2 separate regions of the Homo sapiens genome follow, and region 2 is linked to region 1. The links are contacts of gene promoters, found by promoter capture Hi-C in blood cells and fetal thymus (Javierre and others, 2016). All regions are on one chromosome and are shown on one strand. The core of a region is centred on a gene start or on the middle of the fragment in contact, and the rest is flanking DNA. Distances in the headings are between cores, read along the strand shown. Region 1 holds the start of STK32A (serine/threonine kinase 32A). Region 2 has its middle 21 kb from the start of PPP2R2B-AS2.

Region 1 (3,858 bases), core at 799-3,298:
TGGGGTGTACACTCCGCCTGTGATATTATTTCTAATATCAAGGGGAAGAGAGAATAATGTTACTCCCAACAGCGCAAGGGATGTACACAAATGGTGATATTGTTCCTAATATCCAGGGAAGGAGATGATGATATTACTGGCCATATCGCAGGAAGTGTACACCCTTCTGTAATATTGTTTCTAACATTCAGTGGGGGAGAGAATAAAATTGATCCCAATATCGCAGAAGGTGTACAGACCCCTTTGATAGAGTTTTTAATGTACAGGGAAAAATAATAATATTATGCCCAATGTCGCAGGGGTTGTAACCCCCCCGCCCCCCACTGTATATTCTTCCTAATAGGCAGCATAGTAGAGGTTTATATTACTACCAATATCGCAGAAGGTGCACACACACCTGTGATATACTTCCTAATATCCAGCGGGAAAGAGGCTGCTATTACTTTCAATATCGCAGTGGGTGTACATCCCCCCTGTGGTTTTGCTCCTAATATCCAGGGGGGAAGAGATGATATTACTGACAATATCACAGGGGGTGTACACCTCTTCTGTGATATGGTTCCTGATATAAAGGGGGAAAGTGGATGATATTACTCTTAATAACGTAGGAAGTGTACACCCACCCTGTGATTTTGTCCCTAATAACCTCATGGGGAGAGGTGATATTACTCCCAATATTGCAAGGGGTGGACACCCCACAAGTCATATTGTTTCTTAAATCCAGGAAGGGAAAAGATGGTATTACTACCAATATTCAAAGGATGTACAGAACGCATTTCTTATTGTTCTTAATATCCAGGTCGAAAGGAGATAACATTACTTTTAATATAATAAGGGTGGTACACCCTGCCTGTGATATGATTCCTAAAATCTAGAAGAAGAGAGAATGATATTACTTCCAATAATACACTGGGTGTGCAACCCCCTTTGATATTGTTCCTAATATCTAAAGAAAGAGATGATGATATTACTCCCAATACTGTAGAAGGTATACACCGTCCTGTGATATTGTTCCTAATAACTAGTGGGTGAGGGCATGATATTATTTCAAATATCGCAGTGGCTTTACACCCCTTCCGTGATATTTCTCCTAATTTCCAGGGGGTGGAGTACGAAGTTACTCCCAATATAGTAGTGGGTGTACACCCACGCTGTCACATTTCTACGAATATTCAGGGAAACACAGCACGATAGAACTCCAAGTCTCGCAAAGAGTGTACACCATTTTGTGATATTGTTCCTAATAACCGGAGGTGGATAGGATGCTGTTAGTTTCAATATCGCAGGCTGTGTACACACACACTGTGAAATTGTTTCTAATGTCCAAGAGGGGAGAGAATGCTATTAATTCCCATATAGCAAGAGGGTGAGGCACACCCCGCCATATGGGGAGTAATAGGACCCCCCCTCCCTCCCTGGCTACTACGAGCCACATCGCTGGGGTGTGAGGCACCCTCCTGCCATATGGGGATTAATAGCGTCCCCCTTTCCCCCCCGACTATTACGATCCACATCGCAGGGGAGTGAGGCTTCCCCCGCGATATGAGGAGTAATAGCACCGCCCTCTCCCCCTCAACCCCCCGGCTTTTAGGATCCACATCGCAGGGGGGTGAGGCACCCCCGGCGATATGGAGAGTAATAGCACCCCCCTTCTCCCCCCCCCCCCCCCCCGGCTATTACGATCCACATCGCAGGGGGGGTGAGGCAGTTCCCGTGATATGGGGCGTAATAGTACCCGCTGTGCGTCCTGGTGGCTCCGGACCCGGCCCAAGCGCGGCGGGACCTCCATCCGTAGCCCTCTCCCCCAACGTCGCCCTCCCGGGGTCCTTGTCTAGTCTCAGCAGGCGGCAAACGGACCCCAGGCGTCTGGCGCTCACCCAGGAGACTGCCCAGCGGTTTCTGGAGAGAGCGCTAAGCGGAGACGCCCGCTGGCAAGCAGATCCCGCCTCCTTCCCTGGCCAAGGAGCCGCCCCTCCGGGGTAGCTGTGCGCTGGGCGGCGCTCGGACCCCTTGGCAGCCGCAGGTGCCTCCCCAGCCCAGCCCAGCTCAGTCCAGCGCAGCCCAGCCCAGCCCAGCCCGGCGCTCGCAGCCTCCGCCGCTTCCGGGCAGATAGGTGCCTTTTCTTGCTCCTTGCTCTTGGAGTTCTTCTCTTAGTCCCTGTTCCCTGGATGAAAGCATCGCTCCGAGCCTCATGGGAGGAATGAAGGAAGAATCGAGACTAGGTGAGTGGTGGTCTAGATTTAACGAATAATAACAATAAACCTGCATACTAAGGGTACTGTTGGGAAGCTAGGAAGTGCAAGGAGAAGAGAAGACAAAGGCTGCTGATCAAGATAACTCACAAAACTAAATGCAGGCTAGGGCCAATTCCAGCTATTTTGCACTCCATCCAGGTTCCCCTGCCTGGCACTGACTCATGTGCAGACCCAGACAGACTTCAATAAATATTTGCTGGGTTGAGACAAGTGAGTGGAGGTGTTTCTGCTTGTTCTCCAGCATCTAAACAAGCAAAACCTAGCTGCCTTTGATGATTGCTTCATCTCCACAAGGACTTTTTCCCCCAGGACTTAAAAAATAAAATGTGGTGTATTCACACAACGGACTGCTATGCAGCACTTAAAAAGCTAAAATCAGAGCTGTAGGGATCAGCATGCCTGTACCTAGATTTCAGAAGTATGATGGCAGATAGACACAGCAAGATGCAAAATATATCCACTCTCTCATGCCATTTAGGTGACTTATTTTAAGACACTTGTCATGTTTGTAAAATCATAGAAGGGGGACTGTAAAATGTTTATCACATCCGTGATTGTGGCTGTCTTTGGAAAGTGTGAAAGGGAAATCAATTGGACTTTAGGATTAAGGTGGAAATAATATTTCCCTAAAATGCTTTAAAAATAAAAATGATGATATAAAGATGACCAAATATAAACAATTGTTAACTGAGAGTGTTATTAACTTGGGCATTTTTCATGTTTTTGCCCCCTATTTTTAAAATATTTCTTAAACTAAGAAGTTCTGTTTTTCAAATGCAAACAAAATAAGTTGTGTCTATGCACATTCTGTGACAATGAAACCTAAAATGTTTAATCAAAAGTTGCAACTTTCTTGCATCACCTCCTATGTTTTCCAATCCTAGAAGACCACACCTCTTTATCTAGGGAGGCTTGGTGGTTAGAGAAGCTTACCTGTTGACAACCCCCAAATTACAGGCCAAAGATGAAAGGTTGGTATTAGGGAACTATTTCCCAGTTAATAATCTGATAATCGGCCAGGTCAGGGTAGACTCTGAAAACTCCCTGTGTCCCTGCAAGACAAATTTCTCCTCCTTTTACATTTCATATGCTTTGGATTTTCATTTTCATGGATGGTAGCTGTCCTCTTCACATCTCAAAATGATGCTTAGGTAACACTGCAGACCTAGTGCCTGGAGATCAGGAAGGGCTGGGGGGTTGGTAAAAGAGAGTCCTACAGCTCTACTGGGCTCTTCAGCAGAATGGAAAGGACATGTCTCCATTTTCCTGCGAGAGAAAGGTAGATTTCTTTCTGAATATGAAAAAAAAAATCTAATTTGGTTATCCACATGGGAGAGAAAATGAAAAATAATTTTAAACTGGATTGTGTATGTTAGGTGCAATGAAGAAGATACTAAACGACCACCCAGTGGTTCCATCTGCTTCCCCCTTCCACAGACACACACAAAAATGGTTCCCTGTTTGCATATTATCTTCCCACTAAAAATCACTTGGTCCGTGGTGAACAAAATTGTGTGCACATCAGAATGAAATTCTGAAACATGGAAAATTGCGATAATATTCCTTCCTCTTTCTCTTTCTGATTCGACAACTTGCAAGGTCA
Region 2 (3,946 bases), core at 837-3,336, 690 kb before region 1:
CTTACTAACTTTGCCTGTACTTAATATTACATTACTATGAAGTTTTAAACACTTTATACTGGCTCCAAAGAAACGCCTGCTGAGACATAAGAGTTTGCCACCGGACCCATAAGTTCATTTTTAACGTAAAACTTCAAACATCCTGTCTATGAATTAACTTTATCATTAACTTTGCTTCTAATTTAAATGTAACAGTCTATTTTACAGTCACAGCTTGATTATCACTGGAACAGGATTTGTGTCCATCAGAGAGAACTGTGTGCTGCGGGCCTATGACTAAGCACTGATATTTACTGAGGGCTTACTGTAGGCCAACACCCTTACATGCTATGCTCTTTCCATTGTTATTATTGATCTCCTTAATAACTATGTGCTATTTTCCCCATTCCCAGAGACAGAAACTGACACATGAGAGAGGTTAAGTAAATTGTCCAGGTTGCACAGGCAGAAAATGGTAGAGCTGGGATTCAGACGCAGCTAACCAAGGTCTCTTTACCACTCTGAAATACTGTATCTGCCTATAGTATTTCAATGTGAGACACACAAACCATTACTGAGTCTCTCCACATGCAAAGAATGCTAATGACTAGCTGTGTGTATGCTGAGAATAGGGAGGGGGACAAAGGGACAAACAAAGGAGGTGAAGATCTTAGCGTGGCCCAGTGATTGCCTTCCAGGTCTAACTCCTCTCTGGTGAGAGAGTGTGCATGACTCGCTCTGTACTGGCTGTAACATCTTCTACCAATAATGACCTTCCATGTTGTAATGAAAACTATGTGTAATGGGAATTCCTGGGGTGAAAGGATCCTCTTGCATGGAATGAAGTAGGTTGGGTCAATTTATGGGGAAGCCACCATCTGCAAAAGCCTTCTAACTCAGCTCCCTCCTTTCACTTTTGTTCTACTTGACAGCCAGAGTGATCTTCAGAAACTAATGTCCCTAAGTTCTTATTTTTTTTTTTTTTTTAGATGGCCTCTCACTCTTGTTGCCCAGGCTGGAGTGCAATGATGCAATCTCAGCTCACTGCAACCTCCATCTCTTTGGGTTCAAGTGATTGTCCTGACTCAGCCTCTGAGTAGCTGGGATTACAGGCACCTGCCACCATGCCTGGCTAATTTTTGTATTTTTAGTAGAGACGGGGTTTTACCATGTTGACCAGGCTGGTCTCGAACTCCTGACCTCAGGTGATCCATTTGCCTTGGCCTCCCAAAGTGCTGGGATTACAGGCATGAGCCACTGAGCCTGGCTATGTCCCTAAGTTCTAATGACGCTCACCCTCTCGCTGGAATATGCTGGTACTTTTTCCCACTTTAGAGTCTTTGCATTTGCTCTTTCTCCAGAATGTTCTTCCTGGAGACTTCATGGCAGCCTTCCAGTCACATGCAGGTGCTGGCTTAACTTTTCCCTCAGAGTGGTGGTCCCTCAAATGTTCCTGTTATTGCAGCTAAAGTCACCCAGCCACTCTTCTGTTGTCCCCTTTTAGTCTCTTCACAGCACGCGCCTAAACGTTCTTGCTTGTTATGTCCATGTTTCACATGCCTGCTACACCAGGACACGAGCACATGGGCTCCTCTAGGCAGAGCCCTTGTCTTGTTCACGTTGGTGTTCCTGCCCAGGACAGAGCCTGGCATCAATGCGTGGGGCTCCGGCAGATAAAGGCTTAGTTTACTTGTAAGTTTGTTCCTTAAACTCTGATTGTCATTTACACTGTAAAGGAAAAGTAATAATATGTATTATAATAAAGAACTATTAAATGCTAAACATTGTGCTAGCTACTTGACCTATATGATCTTACACAAAGCTCACAATTCCCATTGTGCAGATGAAGAAACTGAGGTAATTAGTGTAGTCAGAACTTGAGCCTAGATTGTCCCTCTAAAGCTCTTGTCCTTCTCACTGCCCTAGAATTCAGTGTTGCTAGCAATTTTCTACTCCTGGGATGCGATAGAGTCGGGTTCTTTAAAGATCCACGGGCAAATAGTTCCCTACATAAAAAATATAGGGGTGGAGTGAGGTAGGGGGTGGTGTTATCAAGCCAAATGCCTTCAAGAAACCCTGGATGCAGTCTTACCCCACCATTGGTAAAATGAAATGACTCCCTTCTTCTTGGTGTTTGGGTTGTAGTTAATCTGATATTTATTTCAACCTTTTACAGGAATAAAAATAAGAAAGCAGTCACACATTTTGTTGGTATCTTTAGAGTGGGCGGCATGGCATCTGCCCTGCTTGGCTCCTGGCTTACCCTGTTTTGCCACTAAGTACATTTTCCTAGGCCGGCCCCTCTTGGCAGGAGATCACACATGTGTTATGTTGGTGTATTTAAAAAGTGGGTAATTCATTTGTTAAATGAATACGGCAATTATTAATTTCAATTTATCCTGTTTATTGGGAACAGCTGTTCATTAACATTTATTTAACTGCTAATTTTAGAGCCAAACTAATTACCTCAAATACACAGCGCAGTGGTGTCCTGTATAGAGGAGCGCTCGCTCTAACTGCCCTGTGTGCCAGAATAACTAGCTGGCCCTCGTGGGTGCCGTTCTGCAGGTGACCAGGTGGGGGCTCACCTCAACCGGAGATCGGACTGCAGGCTGCAAACAGGTCCGTGGGGCACAAATCTATCTACAAAGTATCTTAAGGCCAGAGTGGCAAATTGTCCCCAGGGGCCAGGAAAGTCGTAAAAATGAATGAAATGGGAAGGTGAAAGAACTTGCACCGCCTCACAGGTCTATCTTTGTTCTATTACTTTTGATCAGCATAAAGTTATAAGAATCTTTCTTTACAGCAAGAAAGACGATTTCAAGCATGATGATAAATATCATTGTCCCTAACCCTGAGTTTCCAGAAGACACTGTTGGATTCTTTAAAGATCCATGAGCAAATAGTTCTCTAAATAAAAAATATAGGCGTGGAGTAGGGTGGGGGGTGGTGTCATCAAGCCAAATGCTTCCAATAAACGCTTGGTACAACCTTATGGCACCCTTGGTAAAATGAAATGACTCCCTTCTTCTTGGTGTTTGGGTTGTAGTCAGTTAGCTGTTTATTTTTTACAGGAGTAGAAATCTACCTTTTACAGGAAAATAGGTGGGCACAGTAGCAAACTGGAGAGCACACAGTTGGAAGGGGGTCTGGGGGGTCAGTTGGGGTCAGGATGGGGGGTAAGGACATGAGGATTGGGAGCTGCCTCTTAGAGGAGTCAGTTGTTGTCAGCTGGGAAGCTGGGGCCCTTTAATTTTTCAAGGGAAACCAAATACATGGATTTTTATGTGGAATTTCCTAAATTTTAGATATTAGCTCAAATTTTATTTATTTATTTTTTTACATAGGGACTTGCTCTGTCACCCAGGTTGGAGTGTAGTGGCATGATCATGGCTTACCTTGACCTTCTGGGCTCATGGGATCCTCCTGCCTCAGCCTCCTGAGTAGCTGGGATTACAGTTGTGGACCACGACGCCTAATTTATTTATTTATTTATTTATTTTTTGTAAATACAGGATCTTGTTTTGTTGCCCAGGCTGGTCTCTAACTCCTGGGCTCAAGCAATCCTCTTGCCTCAGTCTCCCAAAGTGCCTGATAATGGGTATGAGCCACCACGCCTGGCTTAGCTCAAATTGTAAAAGTATACTGTGTAGAATAGCAAAATACACCTGTGGCTTGAGGCCTGCCCATTTGCAGCTGCTAAATTAAAAGTTTTCTCTGTGGGTAATACTCAGGTGGCTGGTGAATAGACATGTCTTCTGAGGCCAAATCTAATTTATTTGGCTTTCAATCATTGTTTTTTTTTTTTTTTTTTGGTCTAGACAACTGTCTCTCTTACTAAAAAAATTAATGTTAAGCAAAATTCTTAACATTTCCGTGCTTCATTTTCCTTATTTTTAAAATGAAAGAGTTGGATTTTGTTTGCTTACTATTAATCTACAACTTTAATAGGACTTAAAACTATACA

Evidence for each region. The method cuts DNA at HindIII sites, captures the fragments that hold promoters and counts their contacts. A CHiCAGO score of 5 or more calls a contact.
Region 2: a fragment that was not itself captured here is called in contact with the fragment with the promoter of STK32A in region 1 in 5 of 17 cell types (naive CD8 T cells, M2 macrophages, total CD4 T cells and 2 more); the score reaches 7.5 in naive CD8 T cells.

The regions. Positions count from the first base shown.
Region 1 is chr5:147,232,978-147,236,835 of GRCh38, forward strand. STK32A (serine/threonine kinase 32A) reads left to right here and starts at 2,049. Exons shown (of 13, transcript NM_001112724.2): 1 at 2,049-2,222. STK32A-AS1 (STK32A antisense RNA 1) reads right to left here and starts at 1,882. Exons shown (of 4, transcript NR_147190.1): 1 at 1,736-1,882. The HindIII fragment of the contact is 14,744 bases long and covers 1-3,181 here.
Region 2 is chr5:146,539,883-146,543,828 of GRCh38, forward strand. No RefSeq gene overlaps it. Among named protein-coding and RNA genes, the nearest start is that of PPP2R2B-AS2, 21 kb to the right of the region's middle. RefSeq lists an enhancer at 749-1,249. The HindIII fragment of the contact is 7,338 bases long and covers 1-3,946 here.